Regions from separate parts of the Homo sapiens genome. Here all the other regions are linked to region 3. The links are contacts of gene promoters, found by promoter capture Hi-C in blood cells and fetal thymus (Javierre and others, 2016). All regions are on one chromosome and are shown on one strand. Each heading gives the region's core, a stretch centred on a gene start or on the middle of the fragment in contact. The rest is flanking DNA. Distances are from core to core; before and after follow the strand shown.

Region 1 (4,686 bases), core at 2,187-4,686, 150 kb after region 3:
TCTCCTTTCACTGCCCAAGAGGCTCGAATGCCTCAGAAGCCCAGGGAGAAGGCTGCTCAAGTGTACAGACTTCCTTTCCCCATCCAAAACCTCTGTCCCTGCATCCCCCAGCCTCTCCACTGCCTCTGCCCACTGCCTGAAGACCCTGGGGATGAGGAAGGAGGCTCCTCTGAGCCAGAAGAGATGGCAGACTTGCTGCCTGGCTCAGGGGAGCCATGCCCTGAATCTAGCAGAGAAGGGTTTAGGTCCCAGAAATGACCAGAACGCCTACTTCTGCCCTGGTTAATTTAGCCCTAACTCTCATCTGCTGGAGAGTCAGCTCCCAAACTGTTCTTTCTTGTAGGCAGAGGATATGTGTGTGTGTATTACATGGGACTGTCTAGAGGTTCCATTTCCCAATAGGGTGGGTTGCCTTTCCTTGTCTTAATTAGGCCTAACTGTTCCAGAGCAGAGGCCATGATTTAGTGGACCATGAATGATTGAGATTTTGCCTGTGTACTATCAATGCCACTTGAACCCCAGCATTCACTTTAATACTTACTGAGCATCTCCCATGTGCAAGGTCCTGGAACTACAGGGATAAGACAGGGTCCATGCCGTCTCAAGGCATTTACGGTTTAAAAAGACCTTTGTAATTACTAACGAAAATGCAAAGCAGAAAGCAGTCTGTAATAAAGATTAAAATAATGCCGTGGGAGCAAAGAGGAAGGGATAATGAATTCTGATTGGGGACAGTGGGAAAGGCTTTATGCAAGAAGCAATGAGGATGGCCTTGACAAATGAGGATTTTTGGTTTTGGAAAATGGATGCAGAGAAGTTTTCAGGTTCGGGGTCCAGCTTGAGCAAAGCCATGGGTTGTACAAAGTCCAAGATAGGTGAGGGGTTTCAAATTTCTCAGTAGTGAGGGAGTATAAGTACGGGGATGATGGAGAAATGAAGCAGGAGAGGTAAAGGATGAGGTCGGACTATGGGACTTATGCCTGGGAGACTCCTTCCTTCAACAACTCTAGTGCTGGTGGAGGACCTGAGAGATCATCTACAGAAGTTCAATCCCTTATTTTGTTAAAAAGAGACCGGATAGGTAGGGGAGGGAAGAGAAGTGACTCAAGTTTGACAAATCCAAACCTGGGCTCCCCTCTCCTGCGCCTCGCCCGCTATTCTTTCCACTCGGCCAGCGTGACTCCAAGACGCGCCACTACCCTTCTACTAGCCGGCTGCCCGGCCTCTCCTCCACTTACCCTGGCCACTGGGGCGCTCCTCTCATCAGTGTCCCAGGCCCAGAAGCCCCGCCCACGCCAGGCATAGGCCCCGCCCCTGTATCCCAAGACCCTGCCTCCTCTTGCGGTGGGGGGAAAGCGGCCTCTTACTCTAGGCCTTTCGGTTTGCGCGAGCGGGCAGGAAAGCGTGCGTGCGGCTAAGAGAGTGGGCGCTCTCGCGGCCGCTGACGGTAGGTGGAATCGCGTTCGAGTCCGGGCAGGAGCAAGCCAGCGAGGGGCTGCTCAGACGCTGCGGGTTGGCCCTGGCGCTGGCCTTTTCTCCCTGGAGGGAGCGCGCGCTGCCGGGGTCCAGGGCAGGCCTCCGGGGGAGGGGTGGGCGGGGCCGCGCGTGCGCAGTCCGCTGGCTGCTGCCCGGCGTGGATGGTAGGGCTCGAGTGAAGGTACTCGTTGGTCGCCTGTTTGGTGCGACGAAGCCGCTGGTGGCCGGCTTTGTTGCCCCTTGAAGCCGCGCCCCAGTGCAGCCAGTGCTGTAGAAATGGGAAGGCGGACAGCGAAGGCTGTTATAGCTGGGGCGGGTGGAAGCGGGACGCCTGGCGGCTCCTGGGGTGGGGCTATGGTTGTGGTGGGACCTAGGGTTCGCGCTGTCCCAGGGGGACCGGGCGGGGCCCAGCCGGGATGCTCTCTGGGCCTCTACTGCCCTCTGCAGGGCGTCGGAGGAACTGCCCAGAGGGGTCACTGCTGAGGAGCGGACTCGGTGCAGATAAAGGTTCTCAAGGGACCCCTCCGCCGGGATGCCGCTCAGCGCCCCTCCACTCAAGAGAAATAAACCCGTGAATCTCGTTAATGTGAATGTTAGAGGCAGCCTTGAAGGAAAAAAGAAAAGGATGAAGTGTAGAAGCTTCGGACGCAGAACGGGACGCGTGTGGTGGGAGCAGGCAGCCGGGGTCTGGTGCCCAATGTGTCAGGCCTTTTTATAGGGCCCGTTACTCCTGGCCACATTTTAAACTCCTCCCCCTTTACCCAACAGACAAACAAAACCCATCAATTTGAGGGTTCTGAGCTTCCGGGCTTTCCGAAGGAATGGGCTAGAATAGTAAACCCAATTTTGGCAACTGTTAAGAGTACACTGGGGAGTGCCTATAAGGGAGATGAAAGTGGCGACTTTATTCGCGTTTGTGACCTTTGGCATTGTGGAGCTCTTGTCCGGCTAGGACTAGCTTAATCATCCCATGACCACTTCTGTCCCCATAAGAGCAGCATGTGGGAAATGTGACGGAAACACCATCCTCCAAACACAAGGCTTTGAGGATGCCATAAAGAAAGATCACCACGTATATGTATATATATGCATATATATATATGCATATATATATGCATATATATATGCATATATATATGCATATATATATATGCATATATATATGCATATATATATAAAGTTATGTCACAAGTCACAAGGGCACACTTCAAAAGCTAGGGGAAATGACTGTGTTAATCAGACTTAATAAGGAATTTCATTATTTACATTCTAAATTTTTCCTTCCTGGTACTTCTGTTCATTTTATATTTGTAGACTGGAATAATGAAGGAAATTGACATATTTTTTTCTCCCCCACAGGAAAAACAATCACATTCTCTGTCAAGCAGCCGTAGTTCTGATTGTCTACTAGGTTAAGCCTACTACTTTAGCTGCTGAGATAGAAAAGTTGTTTTGCAGGGGTTCCAGGCTGGGCATGTTGTCATTGGTGGCAGTGCACTGGAGTGGGAATGTGGAGGATGAGTTAAGTGGAAGTTAATTCAGTCTTTACCTCTGTGATGTGCTCTGCCTTGTATTCATGATTTCCTAGTCATTCTGGTTTTTGTTGAAATGAAATTTAGGTCTTTTCTGTTGCTCCTGGACACAGGTTCTTAGCTCTTTTTTGTGTCATCGATCCCTGAGAGTTTGATGATAGCTGTAGACCTCTTCCCCCTCCCCATGCATATATGCGTGTACACATAACATTTTCATATAATTCTAGAGGATTCACATGCATTGACTCTAGATTAAGAACCTGTTTTAGGGATTTTTAAAAAAATCCTGAGAGCTTCCTAAACTTTGTTTTTAGATAATGATCAAATACTTCGAATTTCCTGGCCCTGACACTATGACTTATGATGTTTTATAAGACAAGAACTATTCCTTCTCTTCTAGTTCTGGGAAAGGATAGGAGTGACATATTTATTAGGAATGTGATAAAGATGGAACAAGAAGGGTTTAGGTTTCCACGTTATGTTATAGTATTAGAAAGCAGAAATACTAACAGCAATATGCTGAGGTTTAAACACTATGGAAGAAAGATTTTCTGTCCTCTAGGAATGTAATATGGGAAAAAAAAAACCCTCAAGATTTTAAATATACTTTTAGTGGCCAGGAGGTAGTAAAGTCAGTGCTCAGCTGGTTGTATACTGGGAGAACGTAAATCCATGCCTTCTATTTTATCAGGGAGGATTTTCATGAGATTTTAGTTGATACAGACTGGTTTGGGTGGTGCCCTCCCTAGGCCAGCATGACCCTGAGGCTCTTTACTAAATGAGGACTTTTTTGCAGATGGAAGAACTGGAGCAAGGCCTGTTGATGCAGCCATGGGCGTGGCTACAGCTTGCAGAGAACTCCCTCTTGGCCAAGGTTTTTATCACCAAGCAGGGCTATGCCTTGTTGGTTTCAGATCTTCAACAGGTGTGGCATGAACAGGTGGACACTAGTGTGGTCAGCCAGCGAGCCAAGGTAAGTATGAGGAGAAGTACTGCTGTGTCGGGGATGTGAACATCAACCAGCTTGCTGGCCTGTAGTTTCCCAAGGAAGGTTGAATCGGGTTGAGACAATTCCAGTTAATGTCCTGTACTTCTACCTGTACTTCTGCCTGGAATCTTTGTGTGTGTGTGTGTGTGTGTGTGTGTGTGTGTGTGTGTGTGTGTGTGAGAGAGAGAGAGAGAGAGAAAGAAAGTTAGTTTCCCTACCCTATGCATGATAATGAATATATTATTTGATCTAGATAGGCCTTTTGTGATTTAATCTTGCCCAAGGCAGAATTGTGAAGTAGGCCAATTGGTCTTTGTGACTCTCTTCTTTTTGTTTTCTTCTTTCCCCTTGTGATGTTTTTATCTTCTCTCCCCTTCCTCTCATGTCCATTGCCTTCGTGTTAACCAGGGCTTTCCTTTGCTGTTACTTATGAGGGAATTAGTTTCCTTTTAGCACCCTTACTCTGTACCACTGCTCTCTCTTTAGGAGCTGAACAAGCGGCTCACTGCTCCTCCTGCAGCTTTCCTCTGTCATTTGGATAATCTCCTTCGCCCATTGTTGAAGGACGCTGCTCACCCTAGCGAAGCTACCTTCTCCTGTGATTGTGTGGCAGATGCACTGATTCTACGGGTGCGAAGTGAGCTCTCTGGCCTCCCCTTCTATTGGAATTTCCACTGCATGCTAGCTAGT
Region 2 (4,395 bases), core at 1,743-4,242, 210 kb after region 3:
TGCAGACTTAAACCATACTTCTACTTCCTACTAACATATGTACCCTCAGACACTGCCTTTCCACCTGTGTGCAAAGATAAAGTAGCCATGCCTCTGTCTAAAGGCTGTCTCTCTATTTGTGCATTAGATTCTATCTCACCTATCAAGGAAATTGCTCTGGTAATTCTCCTCTCCCTAAGTTTTTGTTTTCTATAAGATTGTTATATTAGTATTCAAATGTACTATTATTCTTCCACCTTAAAAATCCTTCTGACACCCCAGTTTGCCCACCAGTTACCACCCTACATCTTCACTCCCCTTCACTACAAAACTCCTTACAAGTGTTGTCTATTTTTACTGTGATCTTACCTTCCTTTTCTTCCAGTTCTGTCTTAAAACCATTTAAATGGGGTTTTGGGTCCCATCACTCCATTGAAATTGTTCTTGAAAAGGTTACTAATGACTTTTTCGTTGCAAAATCCAGTAAATAGTTCTCATCTCTCATCTTATTTGGTCAAACAGCATTTGATAGAGTTGGTCGCCCAGTCCTTCTCGACATACTTTCATTTGGTTTCCAGAGCAATACACTTTCCTGGCTTTATTTTCTGCTTCATCAGTTACTTCTTCACAATCTTCTTTGCTGATCTCTTCTCTTCTGCACTACCTCCAAGGCTCAGTCGTTGGCCCTCTTCTATTCTCTACCCACATTTGCTCTGTTGGTGATCACATTCAGTCTCATGGCTTTAAACATCATCTTTATCCCTGTATCTTCAGCCCAGTTCTTTCTCCCAAACCCCAGACTTGTATATTCAACTACTTGTTCAACATTTCCACCTGGAAGTCTAATAGGTCAAACTCAACATATTCATATTGAACTTCTCATTTCTTCTCCCCTACCCCCAACCCCCACATCAAGCCTGCTCATCCCATAGCCTTCTCCTTGGTTAATGGCAACTTCATCCTTTCAGACTTGCTCAGGTTAAAAATCTTGGAGTTGAGCCAGACATAGCGGAGCACATGGGTAGTCCCAGTTACTTGGAAGGCCAAGATAGGAGGATCTCTTGAGCCCAGGAGTTTGAATCCAGCATGGACAATATAGCAAGATTCTGTGTCTGAAACAAATAAATCTTGGAGTCATGTTTGACTCTTGTCTTTCTCTCATACCCCACATCCAATCCATCAAGAGATTCTATTGGCCCTTCTTTCAAAATAAATACAGAATCTGCCTCTGCTCTAATACCTTGGTCTGAGCCACCATCATTTCTTGCTTAGGGGACTGCAGTTGTCTCTGGGTTTCCATCCTTGTTCTCCTATACAGATGTCCCTTGACTTATGATGGGGTTACATCCTGATAAACCCATCGTAAGTTTAAAATATCATAAGTTGAAAATGTATTGAATACACTTAACCTATAGAACATTATAGCTTAGCCTATCTTAAGCATGCTCAGAACACTTATATTAGCCTTCTGTTGGGCAGAATCATCTAACACAAAGCCTATTTTATAATGAAATGTTGAATATCCCTGAATATCTACTGAATGCATATCACTTTCACACCATTGTAAAGCCAAAAAAATCATAAGCCAGGAACTGTCTATAATCTCTTCTGAACCTGGAAGCTGGAGTGATTCTTTAAAGTTCTCAGTCAGTTCATGCCACTTCCTTGCTCAGAACTCTGCAAGGGATTCCATTTTACTCTAAGTAAAAACAGTTGTCACAGTGGCTCACAAGGCCCCTTCTTACCTGATCCCTATAATCTTTCTGACCTCATCTCTTACCACCTTTGTCTCCCTCACTTCACTCTAGCTACATTGGTCACCTTACTGTTTTGTTTAACACCCTGGGCACACTCCTGTCTTATGCCCTCTGCTCCCAACACTTGTGCCCCAGATATCCATAGGCTAATTCCCATACTGTCAAATCTTTGCTAAATGTCATCTCATCAAAGCCTACCCTGATCACTTTATTTAAAATTGCATCCCACCTTTTCATCCCTACATTCCCAATCCTTCACCCTACTCTTTTTTTCCCCCATTGCATTGAACATTTCCTAACATAACTGTAATATTGATGGTGTTTGACTGCTATAATATAAGCTCCTCAAGGGCAGGGATTTTTGTATGTTCTGTTGACTTTTGTTTCTCAGTAGCCAAGAACAGTACCTGGAACATAGCAGGGCCTCAATAAATACCTGTTGAATTAATACTTGTCTACTTTTAGGCATGATTGCGGAGCAAAAATGACTGAAAATCTGAGTCAATTGAGTAGTAATTTCATATATCTCTACAGCACTTTATGTTTACAGAATCTTTCCCAGGTCATTGCCAACTCTTTTTCTCCTGTGTCCTCAAGTATTCTTCTCCTGAGGGATTAGTCTTGCAAAGTTCTATCAACTTTATACAATAAAAATTCAAAGAATTAAAAAATACGTAAATAGCAAGAGATAGGTCCTCTCACTTTCCTCCTGCCTTGAATTATTTAGAAAGAAGGAAATCTTAGAAAACCATGTATCCTTTCTCCAAGTGGCCCTCTCTAAGTTTGATTCCTTGATTTCTGGGCTTTGATGTTGAGTTTTAGGAAATGTTTCTTGATGATGTAGAATGCTTTGTATCTAGGAGCCCCTTAATATGAGTCTCCACCTCTTTCCCTGAATCTAAATCTTGGTTTATCAAGCCTCTTACCCTTTGCCAGTTTTTTTTTTAAAGCTTCTCTACCTAGGCCCAATTCAGATGTTGTCAAATGGATACATTTATTGCTTCGCCAGCTTTTATCTGGTTTTCTGCTTTCAGTCCTCCTCATTACCTCCTGGAAAATGTTTTGAATTTCCTGTGTACTTTGAAACCTGCCCCTTAGCTCTCTGATTGCATTTATAATAGTACCCATACCCCTCCTCCCTGAACTAGATCCTAGGCTCTTAAGAATTTAATCAAGAAACTAATCCCTGCTATGGATGGTGCTCTCCCCATTGGCTGTGAGCTCTCATCCCTGTGGTAAGGGCTTCCTTGAAGTAGTCCAGGCCTGGCCACAAGAAGTTGGCAGAGGCTAAGGAGTCTTTAACTTAGGTTTCAGTTATATGGGGAATGATATGGGAAGGAGACAGCTATTAAGTGACCATTAGGTTTAAAGCATTGTACAATATCACCCAGAAACACATGCTAAGAACTTGATGGTGAGATCTTTTAACAGTCAGGACTACTACTAACTAAATAATTTATCATCTCTCAGTTAAAAGATATACCCATCAAAACTGGAGACCCGGCATATTGGCCTAGAACTCTACATGCTGCATCGGTCTCTTTTTATCATGGTAAGCTTTTGTTTCCATTGTCTTCCCTGACATACTGTCTCACAGATCTTACAAAAGCCACGTCGGTAGTTAGGCTGAATGGAAGTGGGAAAGGAAGAAAGCTGATTTAGCCAAGTGTTTCCTTAGCCACACCCACTGCCCACCTTCTAGGATGGGACCAATACAGTCTTCCACATACCTTGGTCAGTCTTTTCTTTAGATCCTCCTAGGTGCTCTTCTACTCTGGCTAGTGGCCTTTGGGATGGAGTGGGGTGTTGTTATTACCTGGGGTAAAAATCAGAGGGACTAAAATTCCTCTCCCACCCTCTTCCTCTGTTTTGGTGGTTTGGAGGGTCAAGGCCTTGACAGATAATGTTTTATTATTAGCAGGTGTTCAAGATGCCCTGTAACCAGAGCCTAGATTTGGTCTTTCCTTCATCCCCTCACCTGGAGATGAACCCTGGAGTGCTGTTCTGTTGCGTAGGGTCAGCCTGGTGTCAGGGCTGCCTGTTTGTGCCTCCTAAGTGAGCCTGAGGATAGGGGGTTAGCACACTCAGTGGGAATCCTACACCCACAGCTATAACTTCCTGCAAGGAAGTGGAGAGATTATCAGTTAGGAAATGCTAAATTGAGTAACCAGGGCATTCTCTCCTGCTTAGTGAAACCTAGATCCAAAAGAGTGTGAGATGTACTACACCTAGAAATGATCTGGGCATTTTAGAGTACCTGGACTATAGCCAGGAGTGAGGACAGGGATGAAGAGATTCTGAACCGGGGAACTAGAAGTCTCAGGAAGTAGCTCTTAGCCTCAAGCCTGATCATATCCATTTAGGAAAACTTCTTCCAAATCAAGCCTATCTTGACTCCTCTGCAGATTCGTACTTCTCTCTTTTTCCAGTCCCCTTCTCCCAGCACCCAGCCACAACCTCCGCTTCCACAGTACTGCCAGACTCCTGCTCTGAGTGGGAGGTCTGAATTGAAGTATATCTTAATTTCCAGTTCTTTTTTTCTCCCTACCCTCCATCTTTTTCTGGGATCTTTTTAATGGCTAGTAAGTCCTGCTTAATTTTCCCCAGGCACTGGATGTTAGGGTCATCCTAACATTTTAGATCAGATCAGATCCCTCCA
Region 3 (4,518 bases), core at 1,925-4,424:
ATTAAAAAAAATTTTTTTTTTTGATACGGAGTCTCTCTCTATTACCCAGGCTGGAGTGCAATAGCGCAATCTCGGCTCACTGCAACCCCCACCTCTCAGGGTCAAGCAATTCAGCTGCCTCAGCCTCCCGAGTAGCTGGGATTACAGGCATGAGCCACCACACCTGGCTGGGACTACAGGTACGTGTTACCACGCCCAGCTAATTTTTGTATTTTTTGTAGAGACAAGGATTCGTCATGTTGCCCGGGCTGGTCTCAATCTCCTGGGCTCACGTGATCCTTCTGCCTCGGCCTTCCAAAGTGCTGGGATCACAGGCATGAGCCATTGTGCTTGGCCTCTACAAAAAAAAAAAAAAAAATTAGCCAGGCATGGTTGCTCACAATGGTAGCTGCTCAGGAGGCTGGGGCAGAAGGATTGCTTGAGCCCAGGAGTTGAAGGCTGCAGTGAGCTATGATCTTGTCACTGCACTCCAGACTGGGTGATAGAGTGAGACCCTGACTCTAAATAAATAAATAAATGTTTAAAAATGTATTAGTCACTGTTAGAGGTCACTACACTACACAGACTCATTATTTTGCAGAAGGGTAAAGAGAAAAAGCTGAGAATATATGTTACCTTTCCAGTTGGAATTGCATTTTAGTGTAAACTAAACCCAGTTGATGAGAGAAAGCCCTTCTTTACAAAGTAAAATAAGCGATAAACGTGAATTGAATGATAGGATTATAAAAATCACCATTTTGCAACCTCTAATGAAATCATTTAGTCAAGGATGGATCACCAGTGAATAGTGAAACCATTAGGTGAAAAGTTGATGAGGAACTAGATAGTCTCACAGTGCCAAAGTATCATCCAAGAATTACATGCTGGTCACATTAGAAAACCACAGCTTTACATACAGAGATCTGGCTGTCTCTACCTTAAACCAGTGATCAATTTTAACATCACTAATAGAACAGTCAGACATCATGTACTTCCTGAAATGATGCAATGAGAGGCATTTTGCTTTAAAAATTCTTTAATTTGATACAGTCAATACTTCATATATAACTTCTAGTTTACAGGAAATACAGGTGATATACAGGTTATACACTGGAGAAATACAGGGAAATACAACATGAAGAAAAAAATCAGATAAACCCAGAAGAAGAGTTCTAAAGAAAAATTGACCTGGTCTATCAACATGACAATGTCAAAAATGGGGGAGGGGAGAGAGGATATGGTGTCTATGCTAATTTACAGAGATTAAGAAACATAACAAAGGCCGTGGTTGTTCTTAATTGACTGTTATTTTGAACAAAACACCTGAAAAGAAAAGGCATTTTTGGGGAAACAATCTGAGAAATTTGAATATGAACTGAGCATTAAATTATATTAAGGAATGCCCGGGCGCGGTGGCTCACGCCTGTGATCCTAGCACTTTGGGAGGCCGAGGTGGGTGCATCACGAGGTCAGGAGATCGAGACCATCTTGGCTAACACGGTGAAACCCCGTCTCTACTAAAAATACAAAAAATTAGCCGGGTGCAGTGGCAGGCACCTGTAATCCCAGCTACTCAGGAGGCTGAGGCAGGAGAATGGCGTGAACCTGGGAGGGGGAGCTTGCAGTGAGCCAAGATAGTGCCACTGCAGTCTGGCCTGGGCAAAAGAGCGCAAGACTCCTTCTCAAAAAAATAAAAAAAAAAATTTAAAAAATTATATTAAGGAATTATTGTAAATTTTTTTAGGTGTCATAACAGCACTTAGGTTATGCAGGAAAATGTCCTTATTTCTTGGAGATGCATAATGAAATATTTAGAAGAGAAATGTCATGATGTCTATCATTCATGTTTAAATACTAAAAAGAAGCAAATATTGTAAAACATCAATAACCATTAAGTATGGATGATGAGTATGTAAGTATTCATTATGCATTTCTGTCCTTTTTAAATTTTATTTTATTTTACTGGAAAGCAAGAGAGGAAGGAGATCAAATCTGAACTTAAGAAGCTCACTCCCCTACTTATTGGATGACTAGAGTGGAAGCAAAAGAGCAGTTACTAGCTGATTGCTGCAGTGGTCGTGGTGAAAGAGCACAGTGTTTCAGTTCAGGTAGTGAGGATGGACAGAAGTGGACTGATGGGAGATGTATTTTGCAGGGAGAAACCATAAAATGATTGATAGCCTCGAGGTGGCACAGACGGAGAGAAAGGAGAGTCAAAGCTAATGATGAGGCCAGGCCCGGTAGCTCACACCTGTAATCCCAGCATTTTGGGAGGCGAAGGCCGTTGGATCACCTGAGGTCAAGAGTTCAAGACCATCCTGGCCAACAAGGTGAAATCCCATCTCCAATAAAAATGCAAAAATTAGCCGGGCAAGGTGCTGTGCGCCTGTAATTCCAGCTACTAGGGAGGCTGAGGCAGGAGAATGGCTTGAACCCAGAAGGTGGACATTGCAGTGAGCCAAGATCACGCCAGTATCCAGCCTGGCCAACAGAGCAAGACTCCATCTCAATAAAAAATAAATAAAAGCTAATGATGACAGCTAATATGTATGGAGCATGTAGTATGCACCAGTCCAGTCATCCTTCTAAGTGATCCATATTAGTGTAACGAACAAAATCTTCACAATCACTGTGTGAGGCGGGTAGTAACTATTAACACCTCCACTTTGCAGATCAGGAAACTTGGACGCAGACAAGTTAAACAAGGTGCCCAAGGTCATACCCTTAGTAGATGCCCTGCTAGAACTGGAATCTAGGCATGCCTAACCATTTTTTCTTAAGGAAGAGAACAGTATCTTCAATGACAATGAGTAAGAGTACTTATTCTACCCACTTTTCTGCTTCTTGTCTTCGGGTTTATCGTTCTGGACCCACCTATCTTTCCTGGCCCCCCACTTAACTTAACCCTTTTCACCCACCCTGGGGCGGGGAGACAGAGGTGATCCTAGAAGAGGGCTACAGGGATGGGGCCAAGTGGGAATTCTAGCGAGGCGCCTACTATTTGATGGAGGAGGGATGGGCTAGGTAGGTCCCCCGCTCCGACAGGGCTCTTACGCCATATGTGACGCAAATTAGCTTACGAGCCGGGGGTGGAGGTGTCGTCAGCACCCGCCTGCGGTTGGCCGCGTTGCAGCGAGAGGGGCATGTAGACCCCGCCTCGTAGGGAGGTGGGGAGCGGCAAGCCCCGCCTCAGCCCCTCTGGCAGGCTCCCGCCAGCGTCGCTGCGGCTCCGGCCCGGGAGCGAGCGCCCGGAGCTCGGAAAGATGCGGCGCCCGCGGCGGCCTGGGGGTCTCGGGGGATCCGGGGGTCTCCGGCTGCTCCTCTGCCTCCTGCTGCTGAGCAGCCGCCCGGGGGGCTGCAGCGCCGTTAGTGCCCACGGTCAGGAGGAAACTTGGGCTGGCGGGTGGTGGGGGGCGGGGAGCAGCTTGGGGCCTGGAGCGAAACTCGGTGGGGGTGAGGGTGAAATGTCATGAAGCTCGGGGAGAATATGGGTTGGGGGAGGCATGCGAGATGAGGAAGGTGAGAGGGCGTCTCGGAGGAAAGGGGCGTAGGCCTGGAGGTGGGGCTGGGAATACGGGGGCGGGACCTAAGAGAATTGGGCTCTGGGGAAAATTGCAGGTTCGGGAGAAGGACACGGGGTGCATGTGGGCAGAGGGACTTAGAGACCGGCTGCGAGACCACAGGAGAAGCCACTTGCTCCGAGGCGCCTGGGAGGTGGTGACAGGCGCTGAGGAATGGGAAGGGGAGGTGGCGGGGAGAATGAGGGAACGGTGATCTCTGGGCAGTGGAAGCCTGGGCCGCAGACATAGAGTCCCAGCTGGGCAGAGAGAGAGGCCAGGGTTTCTCCGTAAGCCTAGAGAAGCTGATTGCAGCGATCTGATCTCCTGTAACGGGGGACAGCACGGGGAGGGGGCAGAAGAGGATGAAGAGGGGAGGGTCCTCTCTTGTCCCCCTCCCCACAGCCAGGCCTGGTGCTGACTCACATCTGTGCGGACAGAGACAGTCAGCGCTGACTCACGGACAGGGGGTGGGGGATGGGAGGGTGGCGCGTGGGGGAAGGGGCGCAGCCTCGCCGCCTGGCGCCCTCTTTCCCCACCCGGGCTTGGAGGCCCGAGAGGCAGAGTACTTCCTGTGACGCTGTGGGTTGGCAGAATACAACAGAGGGCTCAGGTCTAGTGGAGAGTCCTCGCTCTGTGACCCCTTCCTCTCTGGTAACCGCCTCCAAGGCCAGCCCTTGGCGGCGCCAGACTCAGAGCTTCAGCACCGCGGACAGCGCCAGCGGCTCGGGACAGCGCGAGGAGAGATGCCTAAGAGACACCCTCCCCAGCCCCACCCATGCCCTCTTTCCCCCGACCGGGGGAAGTGTGCTAGAACCTCTTCTGAGTTCCAGGCCATTATAGGATGCTTTTCCATATTTGGGAAGGAAATTCCTCTTTCAGAATTTGGCCAAAACCTCTCCTGCAGTAATTCTATGAATCTCTCTCCCTGCACCTGGAAGGTTTCTTCCCTATCACTCAGTTAAGCAAACAGAGGCTTTTA
Region 4 (4,212 bases), core at 39-2,538, 190 kb after region 3:
TCTGATGTTTCCTGGGTTGAGGATCTGTAGGTGGAAAAAGATTCTGACTCCTTCTGTCTCTCACTGCATCAGTCGTAGAATAGCTTTCCGCTTAAGTCTCAGTCATTGTTTTCTGTGTCCACTAGTCTCATGGGAGGGTATGGGGCTGGAAACTCCAGTCTATAGAACTTTACTTACTGTTAATGTGTGATCTACAAAATATGTCTTTGTTGCCTAATTGAGCCTTGTAATTTGATTCTGGTTTTTGTCCTATGTGATCTGACTGTCAACCTTTCCTACCCCTCTACTGTAGCTATTGAACTAGGTCAGTGTATCCCTACCAGTGTTTTTCTGAATTGAGTATGATTTAGCCTCTACATCCTAACTTCTCCAAAGCTTGAGAATTGGGGATTCCTGCCTGGGTAGCTACTAACAGAGCCCCCCAGTGCCAGGGACGTAGGACACAATGTTTAGTTCTTTCTTAACTGCCTGTGTGCCCAGTGTTTGCATAGGGGCCAAGCTCCAAACTGGCCTCCGCTATCCACTCTTTACTCCCCATGGGGATGTATGGGCATATGCGCTTTCTACTTTTTGGGCCTAGCCAAGGTTAATATTAGACCTTCTAGCTGGGCTGCTGTTCCCGAAAGCCACAGGGTGTTGTTAATATTCATGTGACCGCAGAGGCTCATCAATATTCATGAGGTATCTGCAGTCTTCCTTCAGGCCCTTAGTTTGGAGAAAACAGGAATGATTAGAGTTTCTAGAACTTAAAACTAACCCTATTTCCTGGAGTCTATTGAGGAGGAGGCAAATCTTAAGAGTAAATGTCTGGGCCAGGAGAAAAAGCATTTTTCATGCCAATATCCTAAACTGGTCTGACAACTTAGTGGAGTTGTGCTGAATGGCTGTTATTAATGTTATCATCCTTATCCAGCATTTATTGAATACCACTGGGTTTAGGTTCTTGTACCAGTACTATGGGGGATAGGAAACTAACATATTTAAGTACTTACTGTGCCAAGGGTACAGAGATAACTAACATGATTCCTGCCCCCAAGAAGCATATGGCTCAGAAAATGAGATAGATAGGTGTACACACACTTATCTTACCAAAGTAAGAGTGCTGTAATAAAGACAAACATGAAGTGCTCAGTGAGGACAGATGAGGAAGTCATTCCCTGGTGGGGAAATTAGTGAAAGATCCCCAGGGAGCTCTTGAAAGGTGCGTGGATCTAAGGAAAGTAAAGTAAAATTTTTGTGACTTCTTGAATAACCCTCCACAAGGCTGTAAATACCCTCCTGGGCTCCCTACTTACCAGCCGTGGCTGCTGCTCCTGCTGTCAGATGGTTCCCCTGTGGTCTAGTCTCTTGTTGAATAGAACTTCTTGCTTATAAAGTGGTCTTCTACTCCTTAGGTGGGAGATATTGCCCCACCTTTTTTCTTGAAAGATTTAACTAGTAAGAGCTCCCAGTTGCGATATAGTTCTTGGTATATTTTGGGTATTTAAAAAGATGAATATAATTCCAGACTATAATTAAAAGAATAGCATGAAAACCCCAAGCCACCCTACTATTGTATTTAGCATTAGTTGAGCTCTTCAGGTTTTTAAACAATTTTCATTAATTTAATTTTTTTTTTTTTTAAGATAGGGTCTATTGCCCAGGCTGGAGTGTGGTGGTGCAATCAGGGCTCACTGCAGCCTCGACCTCCCAGGCTCAACTGATCCTTCCACCTCAACCTCTCAAGTAGCTAGGAGCATGTCCAGCTGATTTTTTGTATTTTTAGTAGAGATGGGGTTTCACCATGTTGCCCAGGCTGGTCTCAAACTCCTGGACTTAAGTGATCCACCTGCCTCAGCCTTCCGAAGTGCCAGGATTATAGGTATGAGCCACTGTGTCCAGCTGCTCTTGAGGTTTTGATGTCACGTGTGAAAGATGCACGGGGGCCTTAATGCCCATAGAAAAAATCAGAACAATAATAAAAGAGGTGGACATAGGATAAATAAGAAAAATCCAAGGACAATGGAATTATTTAATTCAGAGAGTAGATTGAATGGTAGTTCATTCTTTTAAATATGGAAAATTAACACATATAGGATAGTAAATAGCTTTCCTGCATTTTGCTCAAGATAGTACAAGAAGGGATAAACTTGAATTATAAGGATGTAGTTGAAGTAGAGAGAATTTTTACCTGACTAGATTATGTTACTAGGGAAGCTTTGGGAACTCCTTTCCTAGATTTCTTTTTTTTTTTTTTAGACAGAGTTTTGCTCTTGTTGCCCAGGCTGGAGTGCAATGGCGCATTCTTGGCTCACTGCAACCTCAGCCTCCCGGGTTCAAGTGATTCTGGTGCCTTAGCCTCCCACGTAGCTGGGATTATAGGCATGCACCGGCATGCACCACCATGCCTGGCTAATTTTGTATTTTTAGTAGACATGGGGTTTCACCATGTTGGTCAGGCTGGTCTTGAACTCCTGACCTCAAGTGATCCACCCACCTCAGCCTCCCAGAGTGCTGGGATTACAGGCATGAGCCACTGTACCTGAGCTGTTTCTTTAAGATTCTTTACATAATGATCAGTATAGTAGAGTCCTGCTTGGAACAATTAGAGGACGAGGTTAGGAGAGGACATGGCTAGCCCTAAGATTTGGTGGCTCTCTATTTCCCTAGATTTATTGGCTCATACTAGGGCCGATCAGAGACTTTTCTCTCTTCTACAAATGGCAGTATACTTGATGGAGCCCCACATATTTCCCAAGTTGACATTTGGGGGAAATACTTGCATATAATTTAAGCTAGCAATCCTAGGTATTGAATAAATATCGCCTCTTCTTCATTCTTTCTACAAAGACCTGTAAATCTTGAGGTCTGAGGAAGCTGACCTTGGACACTGGCATGCAGTTCCTAGAGTTAGGTCCAGGAATGGGGTTTAGGGAAAAAACATAGCCAGAAAGAATAATATTAACACTTTTTTATATACTCATTCATTGCCCCCTATTCTGATTCCTTCTTCTTATATTTCTTCATTTTGCCTTTTTCCAAAGCCTGTTTATATTTTTGTCTTGATCTTTGCTATTCACTTACATTTTCTTTAAGATGAATGAGAAATTGCTACACTACCTTATTGAGTCAGATAAATGATCCTAGAATGTAGCCTTTCTGAGAGTATGGACCTTGTGTGACTCACTCACCACTGTACCTCCAGTTTGTGGCTGGCATATAATAGGGGCTGTAGAAATTGTTAAATGAATGAAAAAGTATCTTTGTGAGATGAAGTGACTGCTCAGTGAACTTACTACATATTAGAATGTTTGCCCAGAGTGAAGACCATAGGAATGGTACAGCAGCATAATATATCTAAGTCATTGCTTTTTGGGTGATACTGCGTTCATTAGTGTTTGATGACAAACACTAGATCATGTCCTCTCGGTGCTAAATTCGAATTTCTGTGCCAAACCAAGAAAGCCAAAACAGTGTGATATAGTAATTTCAAAATATGTGGACTCTATTAAGTAGAGAAAGGGTTTGTTGAGTATTTGTCTTTCTCAAATCGGCCAGACTCTTGGAGAAGGAACGTCACAAAGAGCTGTAGGACTGGATATAAAAATCCTATGAGAATGTTCTGGCTAGTTAGGGTCCAAGGAAACAGGAGAAGATTGGAGCACTGGATTTCTCCAGTGTGCTCCACAGGAATACTCTCTTTAATAGAAATTATGGTTTCTCTTCTCTTAGATTAAATTCCTTTAGGATTTATGGTGAATTAAGGAAGGTAGCTTGAGGTCCACTCAATTCAAAGATCTGTTCTACTCAGTTGTCATGAAAGGACAGCAGGTGGCGCCAAAACATTGTCCTACTTGTGCTGGGCCAGGGGCAGGGTGGCGGGGAGGACTCAGGTTTGTGAGGGGGAGGGATTCTCTTCTGAAATAGGGATGGGGGAGTGGGGGATTGGTTACCCTGGCTGTTGCTCAGGTAAGAAATTATTGTGGGCTTAATGTCTTCTAGCTCCCCATCACTGGAATCTCTACCCTTAACGTCTTGATTTGACAGGAAGGTTGATGGGGAGAGGGGGATCCCAGCAATCCAGAGTGGAAGACAGTTCACTTTCTGTCCCTGGCAAGACTCCTTTAGGGCCAATTCCACCAGATGCCATAGTTTCTACACTATTGTCTCATTCTGTGAGCCTCTTTTTCTTTTCTGTGAATTTGTTTCTGTCTTTTGACAGATTTCCATCTT
Region 5 (4,770 bases), core at 1,294-3,793, 230 kb after region 3:
TTGAGGTTAAATACTTGAGCTGAGTGAAGGTCGCCCTGAAAAATTGATGAATCTGTTTGATTCCATGGAAAGGGCAGGAGGAAATGACTCTGGACTGCCTCATTCTGCCTAACCCATTTATGTAGACAGCACAGTGCCTACCAAGTCATGTATGAGTGACCCTAAGAGAGGCATCATTTCTTGGGTAGTATGAAGGGAGATGCTAGAGGTCAATATATAAGGAAGGAGGGCAGCTGTTTGCCTCCCCACCATCAGGGCTCTCTGGCTATGGAGGAGAGAACCCTCTTTTGAAGGCGGTGTCTTGGGAGTTAGAGAGCTGAACTCCTGAGAGTGAGGTAGGGTAGAGGTGGTGTGGCCTGATAGTTTACCTTCCCTGTTTCAGTTCATTCCTCAGGGAATGCTGCCAGAGGGCTGTTAGACTCTAGTGTGATTACTGGCTAGAGGCAAAGTTTGGACTCGGGGCTCTGATTCATTGCCTGTGGTTTCCAGTGAAAGTCCAGGCCTGATATAGTCTTTGTGGGGATAGGGTTGGAGTAGAAATGTATGTGACATTTCCTGGTAATCAACAAGGTTTTCAGCTATCCTGACTGGTTCAGCACCTGCTTTCCTGCTTCTCACACTTTCTCTCTTCTATTCTTCTCCCATGAGAGGGCTTTCAGAAATGAATGCCCTTACAGCACAAAAAGGTGCCCTTGACCCAAGGTATGGGCCAATCCAGGATTCTTGGGTTGGTTCTCATGTGAGCTGCTGGCATGGCTGCTCTTGGGGACCTGCTAACTTGGCTGGGAACCATGGTGATTTGCACGCCTAGGGACAGGTGAAATAGTTCTGGGCCCTTTCCAAGATTCCGAAGTGCAGCCAGGTTTGGGACCACTAGACACTCTACTCTTTCATCTCATTTTTATCGCACTTTGTTCAGTCTTCAGCCATTACCTCAACGCAGTTCAGCCAAGTGTATGAAACTACAACTAGGCAAAGTATTTTGCTGTGGATGTAAGTCCACAGTTCATTCTGTAGTGAAGGAAACAGATAAATATAATGTAATCATAGCAGTGTTTCTCAGCCTTTTAAAAATTATCACTTCCCTAAGGAACCTTTTAAGACATTTTTTGCCTAATCACTCCCTATCAGGAAATTTTAATGCCACAGGTATACCAAAAAATCTATTTATGTACTGTGTGTGTGTGTGTGCACGCTTTATACTTTAAAAGAGTCAGTTTTTTTTACCCCTCAAGAACAGTTTTCACTCCCTTGGGGGAATCTCAGCCAGCCCACTGTGAGCATGTGGGTGATAGTAAAGGAGGGTGGGACAGCAGTGGGGAATGGAAAATGGCCGGGGGCCTCAAAAGCTTTGTCAGCTTTGTTTTTCCTGTCTCCTCTGCCTGAACATCACAGCTCCATAATTGTTTCTTGCCTCTCAGTCTGTCATTACCATTTTGCTCTCTCTCCTTTATCCTGAATTTTATCATTTTTCTCTAGTTTATGAATGAATTTAATGAAAATAGTAATTTGTTCAGCTCAGGGAAAATTTAGGGGAAATAATTTCCTAAAATAGCCTTCTAAGAAATCATCCCTTTGGAAAAAGAGCCTAGAAATCTATAGGGTATTCATGGGAAAACATAATAGACCTAAGGATTAGGGGAAATAAGATATACATTTGGAGTTGCCCTTCAGAGGAGATGTCCCAAGAAATCTTTATATTGGTTGCCACCAGGCTTGGATATGGTCGCCCCCTATTGGATCTAACTGCTTTATATTAATTCATTTGGGGTTGATGCCGGTTCTGCATGTGGGGTATTAGATCGCTTCTCTAGCAATACAGTGTAACCAATGACAGTATCTCCTCTCTCTTACAGAAACTGCCAGAGGCATGCAGCATTGGTGATGGAAAGCCCTTTGTCATGAATCTGCAGGATCTGTATATGGCAGTCACCACACAAGAGGTCCAAGTGGGACAGAAGCATCAAGGCGCTGGTGAGCCCTCCAGAGGTACCCGGTCTGTGTGAGGATACAATTAGGATCTAGGTTTATGCTGTCCAATATGATAGTTTTCTAGCCACATATAACTATTTAAGTTTAAATTAATAAAAATGAAATAAAACTAAAAATGCATTTTCTCTTTTGCAGTAGCCACATTTCAAGTGATTAGTAGCCACATGTGGCTGGTGGCTACCAAGTTAATGCAGACACAGAACATTTCCATCATTGCAGAAAGTTCGATTGGGTGGCACTGGTCTAGGTACTTAGAAGGGTTAGCAAAAGAACCAGGAGAAAGATTAGTTTCCCTGGCTGGGCGCAGTGGCTCACACCAGTAACCTCAGGACTTCAGGAGGCCGAGGTGGGAAAGGCCAGGAGTTTGAGACCAGCCTGGACAACACAGCAAAAACCTCATCTCTTTAAAAAAAAAAAAAATTAATCTCCATACCTGAGACATGTGAGGGAATATGTAGAAGAACAGCTGGCTGTTTTGAGTCGAGGAAACTCTCATCCTACCTGCTGAAAGTGGGCCTGGGGAGATCTTCATAGCAGAAACAGGACTTTCTGAAAGTCAGCTGGAAGTTGGACTTGTGGCTACTTCTGTCTGCTTATATATTTGTACCAAACCCTGGCCTTTATCAGAATGCTTGGTGAATGCTAATATCTTCCTGGTAAGAAGAAGGCATTTATCACTATCTTCTCTTGATCTTTCTGATTTCAGGAGATCCTCATACCTCAAACAGTGCTTCCCTGCAAGGAATCGATAGCCAATGTGTAAACCAGCCAGAACAACTGGTCTCCTCAGCCCCAACCCTCTCAGCACCTGAGAAAGAGTCCACGGTGAGTCATGAGCAGCTTCCTGGATGGTGTTCTGAGAGTTGGCACCTATAGCCCCCAAGCCAGTGGTCCCTGGAATTGCTGCTTCATTGGCACTGCCTCAAAAATATTGAGGGATATTTGTGACCAGGCTCCAAATTGTAGGTGTCTAGATGGAGAGTCATGGTCTTGCACATCTTCCCTTGGTGTCCCTTCTCTGTAGGTCTTGTACGAATGATGTGCCTTGACTCCTCTTTCACCTTATCCCACTTCCGGTGATGGCCAGTGATGACCAGTGATAGTCAGCGAGGCTATTCCTTGGGGGAGAAGGGAATCTACATCTCCTGCTTAGGGTCTTATATCGCATTTGCTGTCTGACATAGACTTCAAAATACCTATGTCAGACACTTCCTGAATGCCTCCTCTTTGTAGCTGGGCATGGTGGCTCATGCTTGTTATCACAACCTGTGGGAGGCCAAGGCAGGAGGATCACTTGAAGCCAGGAGTTTAATACCAGCCTGGGCAACCAAGTGAAACCCTATCTTTACAAAAAACAAAATTAGCCAGATATGGCAGCATGTGCCTGTGGTCTCAGCTACTTTGGAGGCTGAGACAGGCGGATTGCTCGAGCCCAGGAGTTCAAGGCTGCAGTGAGCTCTGATTGTGCCCATGTACTCCAGCCTGGGTGGAAAAAAAAAAAAAAAAAAAAAAAGGCCTCATCCTAACCAGGAGCCATGAGAGGAAGAAAGTTCCTTTCCTAATTTCAGTGGAACTATTTCAAAACCCCTACTAACTTGGGTTCCCTTTTTTCTAGGGTACTTCAGGCCCTCTGCAGAGACCTCAGCTGTCAAAGGTCAAGAGGAAGAAGCCAAGGGGTCTCTTCAGTTAATCTGTTGTGGCCTCAGCTGCTGAGGATGGACTTGGAGAACAGCTTCCAAGCTTCACCTTGAAAGAAGCTTACATGGCAGCAATATTTCTAAAATAGTGATACAGTCAGAGGCCTCCTGTAAGGGCGAGAGAACTGAAGTTGATGTTGACAGGCCCACAGGGAATTGGCCTTCCCTGTTCAAGTGGAAGCCAGTCTCTGAGAATCCCGTGCTCTCCTCTCTTTTGGTGGAGGTTCTGTAGGTTCAGGTTTCTACCATGGACTTTAGGTATATAGGGCAAGTCAGCAAGAAAGCACCACACACTCAGGAAGCCTTGTCTACCTTTCCCTAGCGTCTCTAGCCAGCCAGCCCCAGATACTCCTCAGAGACCCACTTCTCTCTTTTGCATGGAATAAAAAGCACTCACAGTCCCTGCTTTTGGGATTACTTATGCTGTGGAACTCATAACCCAATTCACTTCCTTCACTGGGTCCCACCCCATTGTTGTCTCTGGATGAAGTCTAGCCATCAGTCTGGTCCTTCAGATTCTTCGTAAACTTTTCTGCAGTTGCCAGAGCTAAGTCTCCATTTGGAAACTTTGATCTCAAGAACTCTCTTGATGGTGGGCACAAGACAGATAGGTGATTGCTGCTTTCCTTTGCCAAACTTGGATGCATTTTTCTCTTTGTTTCCAAAGTATAGGCAACAGGTTAAACTACCACGTGGGGTAGTTTATCAATCCTCCCGCCTCATCCTTCTGCATAACTGGGACTAAAGGCACACACCACCACACCTAGCTAATTTTTGTATTTTTTTGTGTGTGGAGACAAGGCTTTGCCATGTTGCCCAGGCTGGTCTTGAACTCCTGGACTCTAGTGATCTGCCCACCTCAACCTCCCAAAGTGCTGGGATTACAGGCATGAGCTACCACGCCTATCCAATTTCTGGTTTATTTACTTTCGATGGTTAAATGCCTCCTTATTCAAATATCCTGTATATATACTGGCGTTTCTGTCCTGATGTCAAGTCTCGAGAGAAGATGATCAAACAATAATAAAATAATTATAATAAGAACAACAATAATAAATAGCTAACATTTATTGAGCAGTTA
Region 6 (4,497 bases), core at 170-2,669, 170 kb after region 3:
TTCTTCAGATATTTGTGTGGCCAACTTCCTCACTTCCTTAAAGTCTGTATTAGTTATCCATTGCTGTGTAACAAATTGTCCCAAAATTTAATGGCTTAAAATAACAGGCTGGGTGCGGTGGCTTACGCCTGTAATCGCAGCACTTTGGGAGGCCAAGGCAGATGGATCATGAGGTCAGGAAATCAAGACCATCCTGGCTAACACGGTGAAACCCTGTCTCTAATAAAAATACAAAAAATTAGCCGGGTGTGGTGGCAGGCGCCTGTAGTCCTAGCTACTTGGGAGGCTGAGGCGGGAGAATGGCGTGAACCTGGGAGGTCTCAGAGCTTGCAGTGAGCCGAGATCGTGCCACTGCACTCCAGTCTGGGCGAAAGAGCGAGACTCTGTCTCAGAAAACAAAAACAAAAACAAAAAACCCCAAAAAACCAAAAACACATTTATTATCTTGCATGGTTTCTGAGGGTCAGGAATCTGGGAGCAGCTTAGTGGGTGTGATTCTGGCTCAGTGTCTCTCATGATGTTGCAGTCAATATGTCAGCTGGTAACGCAGTCATTGTAACATCCGGATAATTCATATCCAAGCTTTCTCATGTGGCTGTTGGCAGGAGGTGCCATTTCTTGCTATGTGGCCTGTCCATAGGGCTACTCACAGGACCTGGTTTCCTCCAGAGCCAGTGATCCAAGAGACAAAGACCAAGGCCAGGTGGGGTGGCTCATGCCTGTAATCCCAGCACTTTTGGAGGCTGAGGCGGGCAGATCACCTGAGGTTAAGAGTTCAAGACCAGCCTGGCCAACATGGTGAAACTTCGTCTCTACTAAAAATACAAAAATTAGCTGGACATGGTGGCATGCACCTGTAATCCCAGCTACTCAGGAGGCTGAGGTGGGAGAATTGCTTGAACCCGGGAGGCAGAGGTTGCAGTGAGCTGAGATCACACCACTGCACTCCAGCCTGGGCAACAGAATGAGACTCTGTCTCAAAAAAAAAAGAAAAAGAAAAGAAAATGAGAAACGAAACCAAGACCAAATGGACCTGCAGTCCTTTTATAACCTAATTTCAGAAGTTACATTCTATCACTATCTCACTGTATTCTTTTTATTAGAAATGAGTCACTAAGTCTGGGTCACACTTAAGTGGAAGGTAATTAATTAAACTTCACCTCTTAAGGGGAGCTGTGTCAAAGAATTTGGAGACATATCTACATAGACTACATCCATCTACATGGACTACAACAATGTCTTTTTTCAAATGTTACCTTCCCAATAGAGTTTACCCTGACTACTCATTTAAAGTTGTAAGCTCCATTTGTCCCCCCTGCACCTTAGCACTCCCATTTCATCTTACCATCCTCTACTTTTTATTTTTTCTATAGCACCTAGTTTCCAACATATTGCCATAAAATTTACTTATTTTATTATACTTACTGTTTATGGTCTATCTCCTGTCTGTTAGAATGTAAGCTCAACAAGGACAAAGATGTATGTTTTGTGCACTGGTCTAGCCCAAGTGCCTAGAACAGTGCCTCCACACATAGTAGGCACTCTATAAGTGTTTGTTGAATAGAAGAAGAAATCATATCTTCCCACTCTTTTTTATTTTCCTCCTCTTATGAATAGGCCAGCAAATAATCACCTATTGGTAGCCTTAGACATAGGCAGCCTTACATGTAAATAGATGAGTAGCCTATATTCCCATTCTACCACCTGCCTTATTTGTTTGACATTTATGTTTTCTGAAAGGCAGTCCCAACTTCGGGATGAAGTGTATATAAACCTTGAATCTTTTATTATTGAGAAATCCCAGAACCTCTCTTTTTTTAGAGCCAGTTAAGAGACTAACACCTCAAAAGTCAAAAGAATAAGTACCTAACAAAATCCTGGAAAGAAAATTAGTCTTAGAGTCACAAGGGCTCCACTTCCACAGTTAGAAGGGCTACCCTTTTACCATGTACCTGTTGTTCAATATGTAGAGAAAGCCATAGGATTCAGGGTGGTTTTTTTTTAGTGTCCATGTGGGCATCGTAAAAAAGGATAAGTCTAGATGCATGAGAATATGCTCCCTCCTATTATGTGTGTCAGTTCTCCGACCTAGAAAAACTTGCAGTTAATTCATCCTTTCGGTATTCGGTCAGGTGCATGCGGGCTGAATGAGGTTCTGTGAGCATATAAGGTATGATAATATTGCCATCAAAGAGCTTATAGTGCTTAGTGAATGATAATAAGGGCCATAGTAGTGGAGTGATTAGAAAAAGCTTTCTATAAATGGCAGGACGTGAACTGGGCTTTGATTTAGGCTTTGATTGAAAACTATGTGGAAGACATTTTAGGTGGGAAGCACTTGGGCAAAGGATGGAAAATAAGAATAAGAATGGATGAGGATTAGTAGAAAATAAAGTTAGCAAGATAATAACTTGAGGCTAAATTGTGGGGGCCTTAAATGTTGGGCTGGCAGATTAGTGTTTTATTCTGAAGGTGGTTTTCAGTTTTTTTTGTTTTTTTTTTTTTTTTTTTTTTGCCTGTAACACATTTATTTCTCCATTTAGTTCAATTGTTAACGACTGTCATTATGTGCTGTGATTCTCAAGTGGGGACACATCTCCTAGGAGGGAGATGGGGCACATTCTCCTTGCACTTATTAATTACTGTTGCAGATAGTGGGAAGCCATTGAAAGTTTTGACTGGAGAATTGACATATGAAGGTGATCTTTAGGAATATTAGGCTCTTGGTCATATGCTTATGTGATTTGAAGAATAGTGATGCCATTGATAGACTAGGAAGATCATGGGTGGGGTCGGTTTAACCGTGGGCATATAAAAGAATTGTTTTCCTTACTGAAAATATGAATGTACCAGTATTTGAGCTCTGGAATGAAAATCTCCAGGGAGGAAGGTATGGCTGTGCATGTTTCTCAACTATATTTTGTTTTTTCTGAATTTCACCTTCTCTTTGGGGTTTTCTCACTGTGAATCCTGTAGTAACCAGGGGTTACCACTTCTTTTTTTTTTTTTTTTTCTCAAGAAGAGCTAAAAAGACCTCTTTCTTTATTTTCCTTTTGCAAAGGCTTATAAGGGCTTATGTTTTCAAAAGGAAATTTATTAAAAATTTTAAAGTAATTTTTTAAAAAAATTGTTAAAATTTTGAGAGAGAAAAAAAAGGAAATCAATATAGAAAATACAAATGGGGCCAGGTGCGGTGGCTCAGGTCTGTAATCCCAGCACTTTGGGAGGCTGAGGCGGGCAGATCAGTTGAGGTCGGGAGTTTGAGATCAGCCTGGCCAACATGGCGAAACCCCATCTCTACTAAAGATAAGAAAACTAGCTGGGTGCAATGGTGGGTGCCTGTAATCCCAGCTACTCAGGAGGCTGAAGCAGGAGAATCGCTTGAATCTCGGAGGCAGAGGTTGCAGTGAGCCGAGATTGTGCCACTGCACTCCAGCCTGGGCAACAGAGCAAGACTCCATCTCAAAGAAACAAACAAATAAAGAAACCAAGTAGGGGCTACGTGTGGTGGCTCACGCCTATAATCCCAACAGTTTGGGAGGCTGAGGTGGGTGGATCACCAGAGGTCAGGAGTTCGAGACCAGCCTGGCTAACATGGCGAAACTCCATCTCTACTAAAAATACAAAAATTAGCCGGGCTTGGTGGCACAGGCTTGTGATCCCAGCTACTTGGGAGACTGAGGCAGGAGAATCACTTGAACTCTGGAGGCTGAGGTTGCAGTCAGCCAAGATTGCATCACTGCACTCCAGCCTGAGCGACAAAGCGAGACCTTGTCTCTAAAAAAAAAAAAAAAAAAAGAAACCAAGTGGGAATACATTATGAGAAAGACACTGTCTCAGAAAAAGAAAGAAAGAATACAAAGGGGGTAAAAATTATCCATTTTGGGTTTCTGATTCTAAGAATCCCAATAGCAAAGGAGTTTCCCATATCTCAAATTCTCTTATCCTAAAAAATCTCAAAACCAGATATTACAAAATCAGATATCTGCAGGGGCCAGTCATATTACATAAACATGTATATCAGGCTGGATAGAAGACAACAGAGAGTTGTAGGGGCCTGTGGAAAACGAAATCATGCATGTCCCTGTATCTAGACCTGGATAGGCTAGCACAGTTTAACAGACTGCGCTCCAGGGGGTTGTATATCTTACTTTACTCAAAGGAAGTTACCAACTCTGCCAAAGTGAAAACTATTTTTTCCTCTGTTTTGCTCCATCAAATCCACCATTAGTCTCTCATTTGGTTTATTTATTTATTTATTTGTTTTCTAAAAGAGACAGGATCTCACTATGTAGCCGAGGGCTGGTCTTGAACTCCTGGGCTCAAGCAATTTGCCTGCCACAGCCTCCCAAAGTGCTGGGATTACAGGCATGAGCCACACTTACTTGCTTTAAATCTCCAGTCTAAGAAATCCATTTGGTTCAGATTTGATTTGTGAGGCAGTGATGATGTTTGATGTCTTACTTCTTTACTTTTGAGACGGAATCTCACTCTGTC

Evidence for each region. The method cuts DNA at HindIII sites, captures the fragments that hold promoters and counts their contacts. A CHiCAGO score of 5 or more calls a contact.
Region 1: a fragment that was not itself captured here is called in contact with the fragment with the promoter of PTPRN in region 3 in 16 of 17 cell types (fetal thymus, activated CD4 T cells, erythroblasts and 13 more); the score reaches 10.0 in fetal thymus.
Region 2: a fragment that was not itself captured here is called in contact with the fragment with the promoter of PTPRN in region 3 in 5 of 17 cell types (erythroblasts, naive B cells, naive CD8 T cells and 2 more); the score reaches 6.6 in erythroblasts.
Region 4: a contact is called between a fragment that was not itself captured here and the fragment with the promoter of PTPRN in region 3, in 7 of 17 cell types (erythroblasts, neutrophils, M0 macrophages and 4 more). The highest score is 8.2, in erythroblasts.
Region 5: a fragment that was not itself captured here is called in contact with the fragment with the promoter of PTPRN in region 3 in 3 of 17 cell types (erythroblasts, M0 macrophages and naive B cells); the score reaches 8.4 in erythroblasts.
Region 6: a contact is called between a fragment that was not itself captured here and the fragment with the promoter of PTPRN in region 3, in 1 of 17 cell types (neutrophils). The highest score is 5.0, in neutrophils.

The regions. Positions count from the first base shown.
Region 1 is chr2:219,157,481-219,162,166 of GRCh38, reverse strand. It overlaps NHEJ1 (non-homologous end joining factor 1), which reads left to right and starts at 1,352. Exons shown (of 8, transcript NM_024782.3): 1 at 1,352-1,447; 2 at 3,805-3,981; 3 at 4,483-4,686. The coding sequence starts at 3,805. SLC23A3 (solute carrier family 23 member 3) reads left to right here. Exons shown (of 12, transcript NM_001144889.2): 12 at 1-702. The coding sequence ends at 258. RefSeq lists a silencer at 1,568-1,687. The HindIII fragment of the contact is 2,637 bases long and covers 2,118-4,686 here.
Region 2 is chr2:219,094,167-219,098,561 of GRCh38, reverse strand. The region is part of intron 5 of NHEJ1 (non-homologous end joining factor 1); the gene reads left to right. Among named protein-coding and RNA genes, the nearest start is that of IHH, 35 kb to the right of the region's middle. The HindIII fragment of the contact is 607 bases long and covers 2,689-3,295 here.
Region 3 is chr2:219,308,057-219,312,574 of GRCh38, reverse strand. It overlaps PTPRN (protein tyrosine phosphatase receptor type N), which reads left to right and starts at 3,174. Exons shown (of 23, transcript NM_002846.4): 1 at 3,174-3,357. The coding sequence starts at 3,243. The HindIII fragment of the contact is 26,349 bases long and covers 1-4,518 here.
Region 4 is chr2:219,119,230-219,123,441 of GRCh38, reverse strand. All of the region lies in intron 5 of NHEJ1 (non-homologous end joining factor 1), which reads left to right. Among named protein-coding and RNA genes, the nearest start is that of NHEJ1, 39 kb to the left of the region's middle. The HindIII fragment of the contact is 1,821 bases long and covers 378-2,198 here.
Region 5 is chr2:219,075,293-219,080,062 of GRCh38, reverse strand. NHEJ1 (non-homologous end joining factor 1) reads left to right here. Exons shown (of 8, transcript NM_024782.3): 6 at 1,857-1,974; 7 at 2,699-2,817; 8 at 3,608-4,770. The coding sequence ends at 3,682. Among named protein-coding and RNA genes, the nearest start is that of IHH, 17 kb to the right of the region's middle. RefSeq lists an enhancer at 1,980-3,179. The HindIII fragment of the contact is 2,383 bases long and covers 1,352-3,734 here.
Region 6 is chr2:219,135,588-219,140,084 of GRCh38, reverse strand. The region is part of intron 5 of NHEJ1 (non-homologous end joining factor 1); the gene reads left to right. Among named protein-coding and RNA genes, the nearest start is that of NHEJ1, 23 kb to the left of the region's middle. The HindIII fragment of the contact is 1,670 bases long and covers 585-2,254 here.